7 separate regions of the Homo sapiens genome follow, and regions 1, 2, 3, 4, 5 and 7 are each linked to region 6. Evidence: promoter capture Hi-C in 16 types of primary human blood cells and fetal thymus (Javierre and others, 2016). All regions are on one chromosome and are shown on one strand. Each heading gives the region's core, a stretch centred on a gene start or on the middle of the fragment in contact. The rest is flanking DNA. Distances are from core to core; before and after follow the strand shown. Region 1 overlaps LOC100506639 (a long non-coding RNA gene). Region 2 has its middle 12 kb from the start of FLJ32255. Region 3 has its middle 83 kb from the start of FLJ32255. Region 4 has its middle 48 kb from the start of FLJ32255. Region 5 overlaps ANXA2R-OT1 (ANXA2R overlapping transcript 1). Region 6 holds the start of NNT (nicotinamide nucleotide transhydrogenase). Region 7 overlaps ANXA2R-OT1 (ANXA2R overlapping transcript 1).

The links. The method cuts DNA at HindIII sites, captures the fragments that hold promoters and counts their contacts. A CHiCAGO score of 5 or more calls a contact.
Region 1: a contact is called between a fragment that was not itself captured here and the fragment with the promoter of NNT in region 6, in 6 of 17 cell types (naive CD4 T cells, total CD4 T cells, non-activated CD4 T cells and 3 more). The highest score is 9.6, in naive CD4 T cells.
Region 2: a contact is called between a fragment that was not itself captured here and the fragment with the promoter of NNT in region 6, in 1 of 17 cell types (non-activated CD4 T cells). The highest score is 5.2, in non-activated CD4 T cells.
Region 3: a fragment that was not itself captured here is called in contact with the fragment with the promoter of NNT in region 6 in 1 of 17 cell types (naive CD8 T cells); the score reaches 5.2 in naive CD8 T cells.
Region 4: a contact is called between a fragment that was not itself captured here and the fragment with the promoter of NNT in region 6, in 1 of 17 cell types (non-activated CD4 T cells). The highest score is 6.6, in non-activated CD4 T cells.
Region 5: a contact is called between a fragment that was not itself captured here and the fragment with the promoter of NNT in region 6, in 2 of 17 cell types (fetal thymus and M0 macrophages). The highest score is 5.5, in fetal thymus.
Region 7: a fragment that was not itself captured here is called in contact with the fragment with the promoter of NNT in region 6 in 1 of 17 cell types (fetal thymus); the score reaches 8.5 in fetal thymus.

The regions. Positions count from the first base shown.
Region 1 is chr5:43,079,313-43,082,012 of GRCh38, forward strand. All of the region lies in intron 2 of LOC100506639 (a long non-coding RNA gene), which reads left to right. Among named protein-coding and RNA genes, the nearest start is that of ANXA2R-OT1, 13 kb to the left of the region's middle. The HindIII fragment of the contact is 4,908 bases long and covers 1-2,700 here.
Region 2 is chr5:42,979,979-42,982,678 of GRCh38, forward strand. No RefSeq gene overlaps it. Among named protein-coding and RNA genes, the nearest start is that of FLJ32255, 12 kb to the right of the region's middle. RefSeq lists enhancers at 771-1,596, 1,597-2,422. The HindIII fragment of the contact is 9,477 bases long and covers 1-2,700 here.
Region 3 is chr5:42,909,066-42,911,765 of GRCh38, forward strand. No RefSeq gene overlaps it. Among named protein-coding and RNA genes, the nearest start is that of FLJ32255, 83 kb to the right of the region's middle. The HindIII fragment of the contact is 5,021 bases long and covers 1-2,700 here.
Region 4 is chr5:42,944,057-42,946,756 of GRCh38, forward strand. No RefSeq gene overlaps it. Among named protein-coding and RNA genes, the nearest start is that of FLJ32255, 48 kb to the right of the region's middle. The HindIII fragment of the contact is 7,406 bases long and covers 1-2,700 here.
Region 5 is chr5:43,025,341-43,028,040 of GRCh38, forward strand. The region is part of intron 2 of ANXA2R-OT1 (ANXA2R overlapping transcript 1); the gene reads right to left. It overlaps LOC105374748 (a long non-coding RNA gene), which reads left to right. Exons shown (of 3, transcript NR_188279.1): 3 at 1-2,356. Among named protein-coding and RNA genes, the nearest start is that of ANXA2R, 14 kb to the right of the region's middle. The HindIII fragment of the contact is 4,980 bases long and covers 1-2,700 here.
Region 6 is chr5:43,601,820-43,604,519 of GRCh38, forward strand. It overlaps NNT (nicotinamide nucleotide transhydrogenase), which reads left to right and starts at 1,361. Exons shown (of 22, transcript NM_182977.3): 1 at 1,361-1,475. NNT-AS1 (NNT antisense RNA 1) reads right to left here and starts at 1,411. Exons shown (of 3, transcript NR_073113.1): 1 at 959-1,411. RefSeq lists silencers at 709-928, 1,192-1,281, 1,402-1,621. The HindIII fragment of the contact is 7,409 bases long and covers 1-2,700 here.
Region 7 is chr5:43,049,763-43,052,462 of GRCh38, forward strand. All of the region lies in intron 2 of ANXA2R-OT1 (ANXA2R overlapping transcript 1), which reads right to left. Among named protein-coding and RNA genes, the nearest start is that of ANXA2R-AS1, 9.0 kb to the left of the region's middle. The HindIII fragment of the contact is 1,875 bases long and covers 314-2,188 here.

The DNA of each region.
Region 1 (2,700 bases), core at 26-2,525, 520 kb before region 6:
ATTTCACCCTGGGCAACGGAGAGAAAACCCATCTCTAAAAAAGTTAAGATAAATAAAAAATAAATAAGCAAAAAATAAATTTGGAGCCGGGCGCGGTATCTCATGCCTGTAATCCCAGCACTTTGGGAGGCCGAGGTGGGTGGATCACCTGAGGTCAGGAGTTTGAGACCGGCCTAGCCAACATGGTGAAACACCATCTCTACTAAAAATACAAAAAATTAGCCAGGTGTGGTGGTGGGCGCCTGTAATCCTAGCTACTCGGGAGGCCGAGGCAGGAGAATCGCTTGAACCCAGGAGGTAGAGGTTGCAGTGAGCCAAGATCGCACCATTGCACTCCAGCCTGGGCAACAAGAGCGAAATTCCATCTCTAAATAAATAAATAAATTTTGGTGGTTTTTTTTTTCTTTCCTGTTGTTTCCAGACTAATAACCTAAAATGTTACCACAAGTTGGGCAATGTGAGTCTCACTCATTACCTTCTTTTTCCTGAAATTAGTGACATAAAGAAAAATGTATAGCCAACAATAGCTTATGTTATTTTAATAAACCAATGTAAAATTTTGTTTGTTTGTTTTGTTTTTGAGACAGAGTCTTGCTCTGTCACCCAGGCTGAAGTGCACCCAGGCTGAAGTTGGAGGCTATGGTGAGCTGCACCACTACACCACTATGGGAGGCCGAGGCGAGTGGATTGCCTGAGCTCAGGAGTTCGAGACCAGCCTGGGCAACGTTGTGAAACCCCGTCTCTACTAAAACACAAAAAATTAGCCAGGCCTGGCGGCATGTGCCTATAGTCCCAGCTACTCAGGAGGCTGAGGCAGGAGAATTGCTTGAACCCGGGAGCTGGAGGTTGCAGTGAGCCGAGATTGCGCCACTGCACTCCAGCCTCGGTGACAGAGTGAGACTCCGTCTCAAAAAAAAACAATATAAGGTGAAGGCCAAGCAGGGTGGCACATACCTGTTGTCTCACCTACTCAAAAGGCTGAGGCCAGAGGAGGATTGCTGGAAGTGAGTTCAAAGCCAGCCTAGAGAATATATTGAGACTCTGTCTCTAAATTTTATATATATATGGTGAATTCACCTTTACCATATCTTTTATGTATAAGCAATGGGATTGATTAGCAAGTAATGGGACTCTGAAATCAAAGGGGTAAATTTGGGTAGATCTTTATAAATATAATAACCTTGAACCCCACAAATCTCTCTAAGCGTCCTTTAAAAAATAGACTTTCTGTCTGAGTAGGTGAGTCCTTTTTTTTGTTTGAAGATACTAGAAAGCTCTTACTTGAGACAGCTCCTAAAAGAATGTCAATTCAACAGAAGTCTCATAGCCAGTATAACTAATTCTAACCCCCTAACTAGAGTCAGATACTAGGATACCCCTAAGGGACAACAATGAAATCTGAATTTGGGTGTCATTGCTTACATATCAAAACAGTTGCAAGAGACAGTTAATTTATATTTGCAGAAACCATATGAATTTGTATGAAAATGATTTTTTAAAGTGCTATATCAAGAAAACTAGAACATAATGCAGAACAAATAAAATTTACTTATATGGGTGCCAAGAATAGAAATTCTGGGTTCCGCATACATCAGCATCTAGAAGAATCTGCAGTAGGTATGGATGGTTGATTGAGGCCTTTATTCAATGGTAGTCTACAAAGAATAAGACAGAAGTAAGAACTTTCCTGTTAAAATGGAAAGATAGAGTAAACAAGTTTAGGAATATCTCATAAGCCACTGATTCCATTCTTAGGTCTATATCCAAGGGAAATTCTTGCACATGCACACAAGGAAACATGGAAGAGAATGTCCATATATGTACTGTTCACAGTAACAAAAATTTGCTGAGGAGGAAGGAACTAAAACTCCAACAATAGGAGAGCGGATAGAAAGGAACATATTATATTCACAGAACGGAATATTTTACAAAAATCAGAATAAACTACAACATTACTCAAAATCATGGCTGCATTATAGCAACATAATATTCAGAGAAAAAGTTTAAAAGACTACATAGAACTGTCAATTGAGGAAAATGACAAGATAAGTCTCAATCATTTTAGGAGGTTTATTTGCCAAAGTTAAGGACATGCCTGGGAGACAGGTCTATGCCTTTCTCTGATGATGATTTTGAGGGCTCCAAATTTAAAGGGGAAAGGGCAGGATATTGAGAAGCGCACAGTTTTCACATAAACCAAAGGGGCAGAGGAAAAATATGGGGAATCTGCATTTTACATAAGATAACAGACAAAATGGGGTAGAGGGAACAATCAGATATGCATTTGTGTCTGGCGAGCAGGGTGACTGCACATGTAAAGATAAGCTATCAATTTGCATTGCCATGGTGAAGTTTTAACAGCTCACCAGGAATTTCCCTGTGGGCAAAATATGGGAGAGGCATGTAGCTTTTCATCTTGTAGCCATCTTATTTAGGAATCAAAAGCGGGAGGCAGGTTTGTGTGACCCAGTTCCCAGCTTAACTTTTCCCTTTGGCTAAATGAGTTTGGGGTCCCAAAGTTTAATTTCCCTTCACAGAACACAGTTTTATTTTATAAAATTAACAAAAACACACAATATGTAGATACATATTGATAAAAATAAAACTATGTAAAAAGGTAAACAACAGAATATTCAATTTAGTAATAAAATAACCAACTGTGGATGGTTATCTTGAATTGAAGGGTTGGAAATAAGGGAT
Region 2 (2,700 bases), core at 20-2,519, 620 kb before region 6:
CGCGCCGCCACGCCTGACTGGTTTTCGTATTTTTTTGGTGGAGACGGGGTTTCGCTGTGTTGGCCGGGCTGGTCTCCAGCTCCTAACCGCCAGTGATCCGCCAGCCTCGGCCTCCCGCGGTGCCGGGATTGCAGACGGAGTCTGGTTCACTCAGTGCTCAATGGTGCCCAGGCTGGAGTGCAGTGGCGTGATCTCGGCTCGCTACAACCTCCACCTCCCAGCCGCCTGCCTTGGCCTCCCAAAGTGCTGAGAGTGCAGCCTCTGCCAGGCCGACACCCCGTCTGGGAATTGAGGAGCGTCTCTGCCTGGCCGCCCATCGTCTGGGACGTGAGGAGCCCCTCTGCCTGGCTGCCCAGTCTGGAAAGTGAGGAGTGTCTCTGCCCGGCCGCCATCCCATCTAGGAAGTGAGGAGCGCCTCTTCCCGGCCGCCATCCCATCTAGGAAGTGAGGAGCGTCTCTGCCCGGCCACCCATCGTCTGAGATGTGGGGAGCGCCTCTGCCCCGCCACCTCATCTGGGATGTGAGGAGCACCTCTGCCCGGCCGCGACCCCGTCTGGGAGGTGAGGAGCGTCACTGCCTAGCCGCCCCGTCTGAGAAGTGAGGAGACCCCCCGCCTGGCAACCGCCCCGTCTGAGAAGTGAGGAGCCCCTCCGCCCGGCAGCCACCCCGTCTGGGAAGTGAGGAGCGTCTCCGCCCGGCAGCCACCCCGTCCGGGAGGGAGGTGGGGGGGTCAGCGCCCCGCCCGGCCAGCCGCCCCGTCCGAGAGGGAGGTGGGGAGGGTCAGCCCCCCGCCCGGCCAGCCGCCCCGTCTGGGAGGTGAGGGGCGCCTCTGCCCAGCCGCCCCTACTGGGAAGTGAGGAGCCCCTCTGCCCGGCCACCACCCCGTCTGGGATGTGTACCCAACAGCTCATTGAGAACGGGCCATGATGACAGTGGCGGTTTTGTGGAATAGAAAGGGGGGAAAGGTGGGGAAAAGATTGAGAAATCGGATGGTTGCCGTGTCTGTGTAGAAAGAAGTAGACATGGGAGACTTTTCATTTTGTTCTGTACTAAGAAAAATTCTTCTGCCTTGGGATCCTGTTGATCTGTGACCTTACCCCCAACCCTGTGCTCTCTGAAACATGTGCTGTGTCCACTCAGGGTTAAATGGATTAAGGGCGGTGCAAGATGTGCTTTGTTAAACAGATGCTTGAAGGCAGCATGCTCGTTAAGAGTCATCACCACTCCCTAATCTCAAGTACCCAGGGACACAAACACTGCGGAAGGCCGCAGGGTCCTCTGCCTAGGAAAACCACAGACCTTTGTTCACTTGTTTATCTGCTGACCTTCCCTCCACTATTGTCCTATGACCCTGCCAAATCCTCCTCTGCGAGAAACACCCAAGAATGATCAATTAAAAAAAAAAAATAAAGCTGTTTAAACACAAAAAAAAAAAAAAAAAAAGAAAGAGATCAGATTGTTACTGTGTCTGTGTAGAAAGAACTAGACATAGGAGACTCCATTGTGTTCTGTACTAAGAAAAATTCTTCTGCCTTGGGATGCTGTTAATCTATAACCTTACCCCCAACCCCGTGCTCTCTGAAACATGTGCTGTGTCCACTAAGGGTTAAATGGATTAAGGGCGGTGCAAGATGTGCTTTGTTAAACAGATGCTTGAAGGCAGCATGCTCGTTAAGAGTCATCACCACTCCCTAATCTCAAGTACCCAGGGACACAAACACTGCGGAAGGCCGCAGGGTCCTCTGCCTAGGAAAACCACAGACCTTTGTTCACTTGTTTATCTGCTGACCTTCCCTCCACTATTGTCCTATGACCCTGCCAAATCCTCCTCTGCGAGAAACACCCAAGAATGATCAATTAAAAAAAAAAAATAAAGCTGTTTAAACACAAAAAAAAAAAAAAAAAAAGAAAGAGATCAGATTGTTACTGTGTCTGTGTAGAAAGAACTAGACATAGGAGACTCCATTGTGTTCTGTACTAAGAAAAATTCTTCTGCCTTGGGATGCTGTTAATCTATAACCTTACCCCCAACCCCGTGCTCTCTGAAACATGTGCTGTGTCCACTAAGGGTTAAATGGATTAAGGGCGGTGCAAGATGTGCTTTGTTAAACAGATGCTTGAAGGCAGCATGCTCGTTAAGAGTCATCACCACTCCCTAATCTCAAGTACCCAGGGACACAAACACTGCGGAAGGCGGCGGCGGGGCGCTCTGCCTAGGAAAACCAGAGAGCTTTGTTCACATGTTTATCTGCTGACCTTCCCTCCACTATTGTCCTATGACCCTGCCAAATCCCCCTCTCTGAGAAACAGCCAAGAATGATCAATAAATACTAAGAAAATAAAAAATAAAAAAAGAAATAATGACACATCTTACAATGACTAGTTTCTTAGATTGAGGAAATTATAATTCCAGACAAATGTTAAGCCAAAGAAGGCCAGTGTAGCTCTAGTACTACATTGGCTTAGCCTCTCTCTTCAAATTACTTAGCTTGCTGAAATAATCCAATTAGGCCATCTGGAAAAAAAAAAAAAAAAAAAAAAACACAAGACAAACCAATACAAAAGATGTGCCTGATCGTTACAGGACCAACAGGTTTGGATATCTGCTGTGCAGTAACATAAATATATACCAAAACACTGAAACAGCAGGGCTTACAGCAGAAAAAGAATGTAATGATAGCAGGGCAGCCAGGTGAGGAA
Region 3 (2,700 bases), core at 100-2,599, 690 kb before region 6:
TCTGACGCTAGGCGGAGCTCAGCCAGTAATGCTCGCTTGCCCACTGCTCAGCTCCTGCTTTGGGGCCGGGTTCCTAACCGGTCCGTGGTGGGGGGGATTGGGGACCCCTGATTTAAAGAACAGTGCTAATGCCTGTTTTCTGCCTTTATTTGGAGGGCCACAGTCAGTTTCAAAGCAACTCCAGCATATGATCCACCCAGCTGTCCCCTCCCACCCTGTTAGTATCCACAGCTCCTCAAAGGCCCCTGGAATTTAGACTAAAGCCTGATCACGCCACTGCACACCGGCCTAGGCGACCCAGCGAGACCCCCATCTTAAATAATAATAAGACTCAAAAGAAAAAGAAAAAGCTCTGAGCTAGGTCCCTGCCCCCTTTCTGTCTGCTTCAGGCCCATCTATACCAACCTTGATTTACTAGTTTTGATTCCACAGTTGGAGAATAAGGGAAAGGCTTTAATCAATGTGTACAGTTTCGATGGAAGAACCATCACAATTTTGAGTAGATCTAAAAGAAAAGTTCCTTAGCACATTGCATATTATTCACTACATGAAGAGAGTTTTTCTAAATAAAAATGTTTAGGACATTCAGGAGAGGAAGAACAAATTATGGAATGATCTCCACAGCAAAGACCTCAAGGCTCTTATGCGTGCAGGGCACAGTTCCAGTGCAAAAGTCCCCAGAGACAGCATGAGGGTTCCCACTGAGGTGCCTCGGGCTCCTTCCAGGGCAGCAGTTGAAGCAGGTCCTACTGCAGGCCTGCAGAAAGGCAGGGGTTTCTCTCCTTTCCGGGTTCCTTCTTGATGGAATCGTCGGTTTTCAGCAGCTTCCGGGGACAGCCTGGACCGCAGAGAGCAGTCCTGACTCCACACAGGTGGAGAATAAGGAACAGGCTTCAATTGTCATGTACAAAGAACTATGAATTCTGAGTTGATCTAAAAGTAAAGCCCCTTAGCATATTCTTGATTACATATAAATCAAAGTTGTATAATTGAGAAAACTTTAAGGCACTTTGGAGAGGAAGAACTATATAAGGAATTATCTCCATCATAGAGACTTCTTGTTCCTAGATGAACAGTCCCAAGGAAGTTTACAATAACATAATGAGGGTCTCCACTGGGGTGTGAGGAGCTCCTTCCGGGGAATTGGCTGAAGGCAGTGGTGCTGTTGATGCAAGGATACCCCTAAAATTGGAGTTTAGCCTGGGAGACCAAGTAGATACTTGACTTTGAGCCAGAAAGAATTCAAGAGCAAGCCAACAGAGTAATGTGAAAGCAAGTTTATTAAGGAAACTAAGGAACAAAAAGGAGGCTACCCCATAGTCAGGGTAGCAATGGGGCCAGGGTGGCTAGCTGGCTATTTTATGGCTATTTCTGGATTATATGCTAAACAAGGGGTCAATTATTTCTTTAGTTATCTGGGAAAGGGGTGGGAGCTTGTGGAACCAGGAGTTTCTCCCCCTTACAGAATATACAGAGTAACTCTTGGGCATTGCAATGGCATTTGTAAACAGTCACAGTGATTGCTCGGGTGTTAGTGTCTTTTAGCATCCCAATGCATAATAATGAGCATATAATGAGCAACGAGGGTAACCAGAGGTTGCTTATGTAGCCATCTTCCTTCTAACTGGTTTGGGCTTTTTTTTTTTTTTTTTTTTAAAGGAATCATGTCTTATCAAGAGGGTATTGTGACCTGTGTCTTGGGGACCTAGCCTCCTGTTTGTCTTGCAAAACTAGTCCTGCCAAACTCCTATCTCACTGTGAGCCAGGAGCAACAAAAGGTTTGTACCCCCCTCCCCTTCCTGGGTTGCTCTGTATTTCAAGCCCTGATTGTGAGTAGTTTATGAAGGCATCCTCAGTATGTGTCTGTTCAGCTCCACAAGCGTTGGCATCTCCTGGCTGGTTTGGGACCATTGAACCCTGCCATTGGTAGAATCCATCTTTCTTTAAGGTGACTGGAGCTCCTTTGTGGTTTCAGCCACTGACTCCTGGACATGTGGGTTTTGATGGCCATTGGACCCCTCTTGAGCCTGGGAACAGCTCCGTGCCTGCTGGAAACCCAGCACAGCAGCCCACACATACCTGATTTTACATCCTCACAGAGCTAAGGGCATTGGCAGGCATGGTGGCTCAACACAGCAAGTGATCTAGTGCCCAGCCTCAGGTTTGTTCACGGTCCTGACCTGGTGGCATATGACATGCACTCTGGACCTGCTTACCTCCAGGACTGTTCTTCCAGGTTTAATGGACAGAACTCCATGGGTTCAGTCTTGTGACAAGGCCAGCAATATAGTTGAGATAGGAAAAGAGGTAAATAACACTGGCTAGTACTGAGTGTCTGTTTTTACAGTATGTTTTGTCTTGTATATAGGCCAGAAACCAGCTATTCAAATAAGCAGGGGATTAACACTAATTTGCCTTGCAAATTGGTTCAGAACCTGATAGGATTAAGGTGAAAATTGTATCATTCTGGAAGATACTCTGAAAACGCTTCTGGGTTGCTATGATTGAATCAGCCAAGGAAAGGGAGCAATGGAGATGTCCCACTGGTGGCACGAACCAGTTACTTACTGTCTATTCACTACACAAAGTGTGTCCTTATTGCAGAGCAGCCTAGACAATTACACCTACTATGTCTCATTCTTCTTGCATATTTTAGAGGCATTGAGCAGTTGTAGATAGGAGACACAATGAGGTTAGATC
Region 4 (2,700 bases), core at 47-2,546, 660 kb before region 6:
CACTGCGAGCTCTCTTGGGACAGCTTTCTAGGTTCCACTGCGACCTACTTTCCGCTCCCTGAGTGCTTCTTTGCTGAAACTGCAGGCGAAAAGATCTCTTTCCCAGACCGCAGCGCACTTTGAGAAGGGGCTCAAAGTCGCCCGCTCTGAATCCGGCACCGGCAAATAGGAGTAGCCGCAGGCGCCCTCTGGAGAGCTGGAGACTGCAGAGGGTCCCAACGGACGCCTGCCCCCGCAGCATCCCTCTCAACTCGCCCCTTGCTTCGTGGACAGACGACTGGGGCCGGAGACGTCCGTCCGAGGAGACCTTTCAGAGTGTCAGCCTACTACTGTCCCGCCGAAGCCACCAACCGAAGTTCCAAGACTGCTGGCTGCAGATTGCATGCGCTTGAGGGCAGACGCCCTAAGAAGGTGTCCACCGCCGCCTTTGATGTCCTGAGCCCTGAGATTTTCTCTGAGATCCTTCCATTGACGATCGTCTTGTAACAGATGATGTTACAGTAACACCTGAGTTCTCTCAAACGCGATGGAAGAAGTTTTGCCTTCAAATCAGTTTGTGCCATTTTCTTTCCCCTTCTCAATAAAATTGTACACAAATGTGGCCGGGCGCGGTGGCTTACGCCGGTAATCCCAGCAATTTGGGAGGCCCAGTCGGGTGGATCACTTGAGGTCAGAAGTTCGAGAACAGCCTGACCAACATGGTGAAACCCCGTCGCTACTAAAAATACAAAATAAGCCAGGCATGGTGACGCATGCCTGTAATCCCAACTACTCGGGAGGCTGAGGCAGGAGAATCGCTTGAACCCTGAGGCAGAGGTTGCAGTGAGCCGAGATGGTGTCATTGCACTCCAGCCTGGGCAACAAGAGCAAAACTCTGTCTCAAAAATATAAAATAAAATAAAATAGGACACAAATGTTAAATTTCTGTTACCTGGGTTCCTGCTGATGAAGGTAAGGACGGGGCATAGGAGCGGGGCGGCTGGTTGCTGGTGCCAGGACTGGCACGGGACTCTGGGTCGCCTAGGTTTGCTGATTGCAGGGCAGAAGTAGTGTGTCTTATCCAGAGACTGGAGGGAAGGATCAGCCAGGAGTTGTGCATGGCAGGTGACTCACAGGCTGGGCCTACAGGAAATGTGGTTAACAGGCAGCAGGCCTGAGAACTTAGTGCAGGAAATTCTCTTGTTCCAAGTCCCTGGAACTTTTCCCTCTGAGGGTTTGCACTGTTATATCTTGAGAGCTTGCTAAACTCACTCATGAGTGCTGGAACTTTTCTTTTAGACTCCTTAAGATTTTCTACATAGACTCATATTCTGCAGGTATGGATATTTTCATTGTTTCGCTTCCAATTTTTATGATTTTTAACACATTTTCTCACCTTATTGCACTGGCAAACAATTCCAGTACATTGTTGAATAGAAATGGTGAGAGTGGATATTTGTGCCTTGTTCCTGATTCCATGGGAAAAACGTTGAGTCTGTCATTATTACATACCACGTTTGCTATAGGTTTTTGTAGATTTTTTTTGGTTGAGGAAATTCCCTCTGTTCCCATGATGCTGAGAGTTGGTTTTTAAATTTTAAATCATAAATGGTATAGATTTTAAGTGCTTTTTGTGCATCATTTGATAGGATTATACGGTGTTTCTCATCTAGGCTATCAATAAGGCAAATTATATTATTTGACTTTCGAGCATTAAACTAGCCCTCCATCTGGAATAATCTTACTTGGGCGTGGTATTGTTCTTTATTTTTTTTGAGACGGAGTCTCGCTCTGTCGCCCAGGCTGGAGTGCAGTGGTGCGGTCTCGGCTCACTGCAAGCTCCGCCTTCCGGGTTGACGCCATTCTCCTGCCTCAGCCTCCCAAGTAGCTGGGACTACAGGCACCCACTACCACCCCCGGCTAATTTTTTGTATTTTTTTTTTTTAGTAGAGACAGGGTATCACTGTGTTAGCCAAAATGGTCTCGATCTCCTAACCTCGTGATCCGCCGGCCTCGGCCTCCCAAAGTGCTGGGATTACAGGCGTGAACCACTGCGCCTGGCCCAAGGCATGGTATTGTTCTTTAACATATATTTCTGACTGCCATTTGTTAGTATTTTGGTGAGGATTTCTGCATCTATGCTTAGGTGCAATATTGGTCAGTAGCTTTCTCTTAGCGTACTGTGTGTGCCAGGAAAGTGCTGATCTCATAAAATAAATTGGGAAGTATTCCATATTCTTTTATTTACTAGAATAAGTCATGTAGAATTCATCTTATTTATTCTTTAAATATTTGGTAAAAAATAGTCAATGAAATTGTAAGAAACTCTAGGTTTGTTTTTTGGAAGATTTTTTGACCATGAATTCAATATCATTAACGATGACTGTGGATCTTGCAGGGTTGATCCATTCTATCTAACTTGTTGAATTTATGAGTATAGAGTTGGTTTTAGATCATTTAAAAAAGTTACCATTGTGGGCCAGGTGGGGTGGCTCACTCCTGTAATCCCAGCACTTTGGGTGGCCAAGGTGAGTGAATCACTTGAGGCCCGGAGTTCAAGACCAGCCTGGCCAACATAGCAAAACCCCATCTCTACTAAAAATACAAAAAATTAGCCAGGCGTGGTGGTGCACGCCTGTAATCCCAGCTACACAGGAGGCTGAATCACAAGAATCACTTGAACCCAGGAGGTGGAGGTTGCAGTGAGCCAAGATCAGGCCA
Region 5 (2,700 bases), core at 5-2,504, 580 kb before region 6:
GTCTCTGAACTGGCCGCCCCGGGGCGTACCTGTCTCTTATGGTCGAGATTGCAGAGGTGAAATAAACTCCAGTTTCCCATAGCGCTCCCAGGCTTATTAGGAAGAGGAAATTCCCGCCTAATAAACTTTGGTCAGACCAGTTGATCTCAAAACCCTGTCTCCTGATAAGATAATATCAGTGACAATGGTGCCAAAACTTCATTAGCAATTTTAATTTCGTTTCGGTCCTGTGGTCCTGTGATCTCGCCCTGCCTCCACTTGCCTTGTGATATTCTATTACCCTGTTAAGTACTTGATGTCTGTCACCCACACCTATTCGCACACTCCCTCCCCTTTTGAAAATCCCTAAAAAAACCTGCTGGTTTCGGTGGCTTGTGGGGCATCACAGATCCTACCAATGTGTGATGTCTCCCCCGGACGCCCAGCTTTAAAATTTCTCTCTTTTGTACTCTGTTCTTTTATTTCTCAAGCCAGTCGACGCTTAGGAAAATAGAAAAGAACCTACGTGATTATCGGCGCAGGTCCCCCGATAACCTGTGATCCTGTTTTGTGATATCAAGTGTTTTAAGTCTTTGATGTTTGACAAACTTTCCAAAATCCAATTCTAAATTCAGTCATTTTCATCTCATTAGTTTTTTTGACATTGAGTCCCCTGAAATCCAAAGAGACATATTTGGCTTAGTTGGTATAATCACACAAGAAGTATTATCAAATATAAAATGATATGTAACCATCTTTGCATTGTATTTATGTAAATGTGTTATTAGTGTTTTAAAATTGTATGAGATTCTTCTGATTGTGATATGTCTTAGTATATGTTTTCAGAACTAATTATGATTATTATATTCAAATGTTATATATCATAGATATAACCACATTTCTTTGTCAGTTGTGTCTTAAACCATGGCTATTGTAAGACTTTTGTCATCTACAATTATTGTTTTACTTAGATCCTTTCGTAGAGTGGTTTATAATCAGTTATAGAGCTCTGAGACTACCCTTTTTGTTGTTGTTGTTGTTGATGTTTGCTTTTTGAGACAGGGTCTCAATCTGTCACCTATACTGCAGTGTGGTGGCATAATCACTGCTCACTTCAGCCTTAATCTCCTAGACTCAAGCAATCCTCCCACCTAAGCCTACCAAGTAGCTGAGGCTACAGGCACGCACCATACACTCAGAGAATTTTAAAAATTTTGTAGAGATAGAGTCTCCCTCTGCTGCCCAGGCTGATCTCAAACTCTTGGGCTCAAGCAATCCTCCCACCTCAGCCTCCCAAAGTGCTGGGATTACAGGCATAAGCCACCACACCCAAGATTTTAATACATTTATCATGTCTTCATTAACAAATACCAAGTGTCTATATTGTACTACATAGTGAACAAGGTCCCAGAGATAAGTAATCAACAAGCAGACATGGACTTGGCCATAAAGTGTTTGACACCTTCATGGATTGTAAAAAAAAAAAAAAAGCATGACAACAAATAAATAAATAAAACCGTGTTTATATGATAAATGTTATCAAGAAACTTAACGCAACTTAGTTGAAAAGGTAACTAGGAGGATATTATATTAGCTACTATAGTAAGGATAGAATTGTCACAGATACTTCCACTTCGATATGAGTAATGCAATGAACAACACCAAAAAACAAACAAACCAACCTAGGCTGGGTGCAGTGGCTCGCACTTGTACTCCTAGCACTTTGGGAGGCCAAGGCAGGCGGATCACTTGAGGCAAGGAGTTCAAGACCATCCTGGCGAACATGGTGAAATGCCATCTCTACTAAAAATATAAGAAAATTTGCTGGGCGTGGTGGCCCACACCTGTAATCTCAAGTTACTCAGTAGGCTGAGGCGAGAGAATCATTTGAACCCGGGAGGCAGAGCTTGCAGTGAGCTGAGAACACACCACTGTACTCCAGCCTGGGCAACAGAGCAAGACCCTGTCTCAAAAAAAAAAAAAAAAAGGTGGAGTTACCATCATGAGAGAATATAAAGTACAAAGATTCTAAGACTAGAAAACTTTATTATGGGCCGGGCATAGTGGCTCATGCCTGTAATCCCAGCACTATGGGAGGCTGAGGCAGGAGGATCACTTGAGGCCAAAAACTCAAAACTAGCCCAGGCAACATAGTAAAATACCATCTCTAGTAAAAAAAAAAAAAAAAAAAAAATTAGCTGGATGTGTTGGTGTCTGCTTGTAGTCCCAGCCACACAGGAGGCTGAGGCAACATAATTGTTTGAGCCCAGGAGTTCAAGGCTGAAGTGAGCTGTGATGATACCACTGCATTCTAGCCTGAGCTACAGAGTGAAACCTTGCCTCCAAAATAAAAATAAACGTTTGTTACAGCCATGGACAAAGAGAAAGCAATTAATGGCTTTCAGTGAACTAAATGGGAGGTATCTAGACTAAAAAAATCTTGTAGTCTTCTGCCCAAGATGGCCTGCTGGCCTCTAGGCAAAAATGATACATGATTAGATAAAGGTGGAAGTTTTGATTTAGTTTTGATTGAATTGTTAAACTACTGATGATACAGTGCCCACGTATATGATATTGACTCCATAAATTATCAGGTTGGCCAAAGATGTAGCAAAGGCATTTGTAAGAAAGCTGTAACTGATAACGCTTGATGGTATATTTCTACATTTTCTTCCTAAGTTTATCAGATTAGTTGACCCCTATATCAGCTGAGTTCTTTAT
Region 6 (2,700 bases), core at 111-2,610:
GTCTCTAGACATTGCCAAATATCCCTCGGAACTAAATTGTCCCCAGTTGGGAACCACGAATTATTAATCCCTAAAAGACAAAGCAGCAACTCCTGACCCCTACAAAAAGTTTTAAATCAATAACTTAGTTTAAAATCCTTACTAAGTGGGATCATTACTAATCTCACTTCATTGTACCTTCAGTATCTGGAAACCGTCCCTATGGTCACACTTACCACGGCTCATTATTATTTTAAAACATGGGGCTGTGTCATTTCCTGTCTGTGAGTTTGGACTGCAGTGGGAATCCATTAGTTGAATGACCTTCTGTGTAGGTTAATCACAAGACAAGTTCTCAAACTAAGGGTTTCCCTGCGGCTCATTTCTTTTTAAAGTTATGGAATACCTGTTCTGCTTATACCTTTTAGATTCATAATTATTTTTCTTGTATCAAAATTTCAATTAATAGAAATAAATGACGTTACTGACACTTCATGATGATTAAGTTTTGGGCAAGTGAACCATTTTACACTCTATTTTTTATTCCTCCCACTTTTAGTCAGAATACACCTGCAGAATAAGTAACAGAACTGTGTGAAAAGAACGACTAGGTCATTACGGTTAATAGTTTTAGAAAAACAGCCGAGGCCTGGTCTGGAAAGCTCACAACCTCCACCCAGATGCTTTCCAGCCTCGGGGATATTCGTACTAGCAGTGACACTAGCCAGCTTCCTCTAGGCTGGCTCTGATGTTGGAAGACAAGCACGCAGATGTGTGTTACTTTTCAAGCCTGGACATCGTTTCTGAGGAATTTAACTCCACCTCTCCTGCCAGAATGGAAAATCAACGCCCCCCATTCCCGCCCTTCACCAACCCCTCTCCGCCTGCCCCTTTCCCTTGGGTCCTCTCTGTTACAGAAGTTCTGATTTTTCCTAGCGAGCTGGAGGAAAGGCAGGTACCCGGAGTGGAGTTATATTACCTGTTTCTTTGTTCTGATGGGACCCCAGAGAGGACATCACGCTTTGTAACTGGTTCTTCAAGGGGAGAAGCAAATGTGTCCCTGAAAACTTCAGCTGCCGCGTTTGGCACCAGGTTTGATTGACAAGGACTGGCGGAGGGAAAGCGCGGAGGCTGGGCTGGGGGCCGCAGGCCGAGGCAGAGACAAAGAGGTTTCGCCTGTCCCCGAGAGTGGAAGGGCCCCTGGGGGTAACTAGCCTTTGAGCTCAAAGGGGCATTTCGTGAGGTCGCCTTTTGGTTCGGAGAGCGCGCGGCGATCGGGTGGAGGGGGCCTGGCGGGAAGAAAGCTGGGGCGGGGAAGGGGCGCGGGCCGAGGTGGGAGCGGAGCTGCAGTCACGTGGCCGCCCGCCGCCGCGGAGTTGGGGCTGTTCTTCCGGGTTGGAGGCGCAGCGCCGCGGGGCCCAAGCCCGGGTCTGCCAGCGCGACGTCCTCTCGCGGCCCTCAGGGCACAGCCCAAGGCTGTCAGCCTCCCGGCCCAGGTGAGCGCGACGGCACTGGCGGGTGCGGGCAGCCGGGGCGCGCGCCTAGGGCGCAGCTGGGAAAGGGGCTCGGGCCTTTCCTGAAGACCACGGCCCTCGCCGGGAGAGAGACCTGTCAAAGAGCAAAGCGGGGCGGGGTCGGCGGTGTCCCGGGCGCAGGGTGCATTGGGGTGTCCGCAGGCCGCAGGCTTAGGTGGGGAAGAAGCACCGTGCCTCTTGGTGTCCCTTTCTCGTCTCCTGCTGGGGCGATGTCGAAGGGAGTGGGCTGGTGGATTTGGGAACTGGGTCCCCGAAGAGGGCAGGGAATGAGGCGGCAGCTGTGCAGGTGCAGATATTTGCAGCTTTGGGGGACAGCGAGAGTCGTACGGGGTCATTTCGGCCCTCAAGATCGGGGGTGGTGGAGAGGGAGGTCATAGAGGACTTTCGATGGGCGGTTCATCCAGAGAGGTGGCAGCTGGATGCCCTTGAGGTATGCTTGACCCTTGAGGGAGTTCGGAGAGGGTGTCCGGCTGGGGACATAGGAGATTGCGAGCACAAATTGTGAGTGTGAGTTGGGGCGGTCTGGCGGTGGTGGGTACAAGTTTCTGGGGCCTAGGCTGGTGAGGAGGAAGAGACAGCGGAGAGGGCGACCTGGGCAGAGCTAGTTCAAACTCAACAGCCGGAATGACTATTTGCAGCCGTGGCCAATCGGCTTCCTAGGGAGGTTATAAATAGCGGTCTCGTGCAGATGCCAGCGGGTGGCAGTTAGTTGCCGAGCAAGGGACGGCACCGGTGGCAGTAGCCGTGACACCAGTGGCTTTGGGTGAGGTCACGGCGCCTGCCAGCCGAAGCTGGCTCAGTAGGGTATTGTGTCCTTGCTGGTATGTCTCGCTTTTAAAAGCGTGACTTGTTTATGGTTGCCGGTGTCCTTTATTCACCCTGTGGCGCCGGCCAGTCCTTAGGTGGTCTGTTTGTCAGGAGTCTTGTAGGACAGACTTATTCGGAGAAGCGCGTGGGGCTTAGGTGCCTACCTACTCTTCTTATTTAAAGTGTGCCCCTTTTCTTCATTGCACCCCTTTTATTTGTAAACCTTGACTTTTTATTAACAGACAGTTTAGGATTGCCTTCTTTCCAGCAGGTGCGCTTAGGCTGCTTACCTTGGTGATAGAATCAGTTTTCCACAAGGCTACACAAACATTTCCTTTTCAAAGGAAATTTTCCGAAAATCCTTGGAAAATGTGCTCAA
Region 7 (2,700 bases), core at 1-2,500, 550 kb before region 6:
TCCTCCTGTTCTCCATATCAGTCTCTCTGGTCCTCAGTTTCCTGCAACACTACCTTATTGGCCCATACTGGGTATCACGCAGGGTCAGAGGCGAATTTACCATGCAGCTAAGGAAGCTTAGCTTTTAGGATCCGTTTGAACAGGTCTGTAATTTTGTACTCAAAATTTTTATTCTTTTTTTTAAAGAGAATCCCCCACTACTTTTATGAACATTGGGTACTATTAACTGAACCTACCTTGAACACAACAGTTTGCTTGATCACATGGAACCATCTTCTAGGAAGCCCTATCTAAGAATAATCCACTTAGGATAAGCTTCTAAGAATAATCCACTTAGGATGAAAGAAAGGGGAAGAATATATCCACTGTGGGAGAAATAAAACAATCCTGACACAAAAAGACCCCTGTGTACCCAACAGAAGAGAGACAGAACACTAGTATTGAATTAGCCTTAACAGATTTACATGCATGTAAGGTAGCATGACAATAACTATAAAGCTGGCTCATATCTCATATGCTTTGAACAAAGAATGGGGAAGAATGAGAACTGCTTTTACTGCTTCAAAAGAAAAGAGGGTACACCTTGTGACAGTTTCCCCTATACTGAGAAACCCTCAGCTCGTCCTTGTAGGTGCTGTTAAAAAACATCTGGATGTTATTTTCCTATGGCCCGGGTACATTCTGGAGACCGGGCTTAATCCCTAGAGATATTATATTTCCACTGTTAGAACAAAGATTCAGAGTTGTTACCACGTTGAATGTAATATCACTGTTTTCTTTCTTTTGTGGTTTTTAGGAACAGAAACAACACACTCAGACTTGAGAAACTGGTCTGGTTTAAAAGGGTTCCTGGCCTTACAGGTGGGTAAGAAATGTCACTTCCTGGCAGGCTGAGGAACATCAGGATATTTGGAGGACCTTGACAAGGGAAGAATTCACCGAAATCTATAGGTATTCCAGGCAAAGTGTGATAGCAAGATCCTGGTATGGTTTCCTAGCCTTGAGAGGCTTTTAAAAGTCTAATTTGAGATTCCTTATTAAAAGATCCAGAAAAGCCAACTTAAAGAGACCCTGTGTGGTAAAACACTATTCCTGCTGCACTTGTGTAAATATTAGGCCAACTTTAAAGACACTAAATTTATTTTGCAAACAGATTACTCTTACTAATACTTTGATGATGTTTGATAAAAAGGGAGTAAGTATAGAGAAAAAACTTTCAGAGAAAAAAATATAGTGCACCTGTTATTAGACTCTAGCTCATTGTTTTTGAGGTTTTTTCGTCTACCTGAAATCTAGACTGGATCTTGAATTTTTTGTTTCCTGTAATATCTGGCAATGGGCTGGGTGTCAGAGCTCGCAACTGCAATCCCAGCACTTTGGGAGGTCGAGGTGGGAGGATTGCTGAAGCCCAAGACTTCGAGACCAGCCTGGGCAAAAGGCGAAACACCGTCTCTACAAAAAGTTCAAAAATTTGCTGGGCATGGAGGCATGCGCCTGTGGTTGCAGCTGCTTGGAAGGTGGAGGTGGAAGGATTGCTTGAGCCAAGGAGGTTGAGGCTGCAGTAAGCCTTGTTTGTGCCACTGCACTCCAGCCTCAATTACAAAGCAAGGACCCCATCTCAAAAAAAAAAAAAAAAAGGGCTGGACGCATTGGCTCATGCCTGTAATCCCAGCACTTTGGCAGGTTGAGGCAGGTGGATCACTTGAGGCTAGGAGTTCGAGGCCAGCCTGGCCAACATGGTGAAAACCCATCTCTACAAAAAATACAAAAATTAGCTGGGTGTGGTGGTGTGCACCTGTAATTCTAGCTACTCGGGAGGCAGGGGCAGGAGAATTGCTTGAACACAGAGGTGAATGTTGCAGTGAGTGGAGATGGTGACACTGTACTCCAGCCTGGGCGACAGAGCAAGACTTCACCTAAAAAAAAAAAAAGTCTAGCTATGGCTCTTAAAACTAATATTTCTGATTTTTCTTCTACCCTTCTGGCTTTGAACTGCTGAAATTAAACTGCACTTTTCCTGAAGTCTTGTCAGCTGAAGCTGGATGGGTTAATATAGACTGCAGAGAAATCACCACCACTCATACATGGACTACTCAGAAATTTCACCAGAACACCTCATGCAAACTGCAAACCAGGAAATTCCGTCAGATTGCCACTGCCTGCCCCCATTCAAACTGAAGATACTTCAAGCTTAACATCTAAAACTTTCTGACTGGCTGCCCTCTGGACTAAAAAAACTGAGTTTATAGTCAGTTCCAATCATTAACCTTTGCTTTTCTCGTTTCAATGAAAATATCTTTTTTTTTTTTTTTTTTTGAGACAGAGTTTTGCTGTTGTTGCCCAGGCTGGAGTGCAATGGTACAATCTCGGCTCATTGCAACTTCCACCTTCTGGGTTCAAGTGATTCTCCTGCCTCAGCCTCCTGAGTAGCTGCGATTATAGGAATGTGCCACCACACCTGGCTAATTTTGTATTTTTAGTAGAGACAGGGTTTCTCCATGTTGGTCAGGCTGGTCTCAAACTCCCTAGGTGATCCGCCCGCCTCGGCCTCCCAAAGTGCTGGGATTATAGGCATGAGCCACCACACCTGGCTGGAAATATCTCTTATTAAATGAATGATTGCTTAGGCCTAACTTTGGTGGATGCCATTCTGCAATCCCACCACCTGACTCGAGACAGTCCTGTTAACTGTTTAACTGG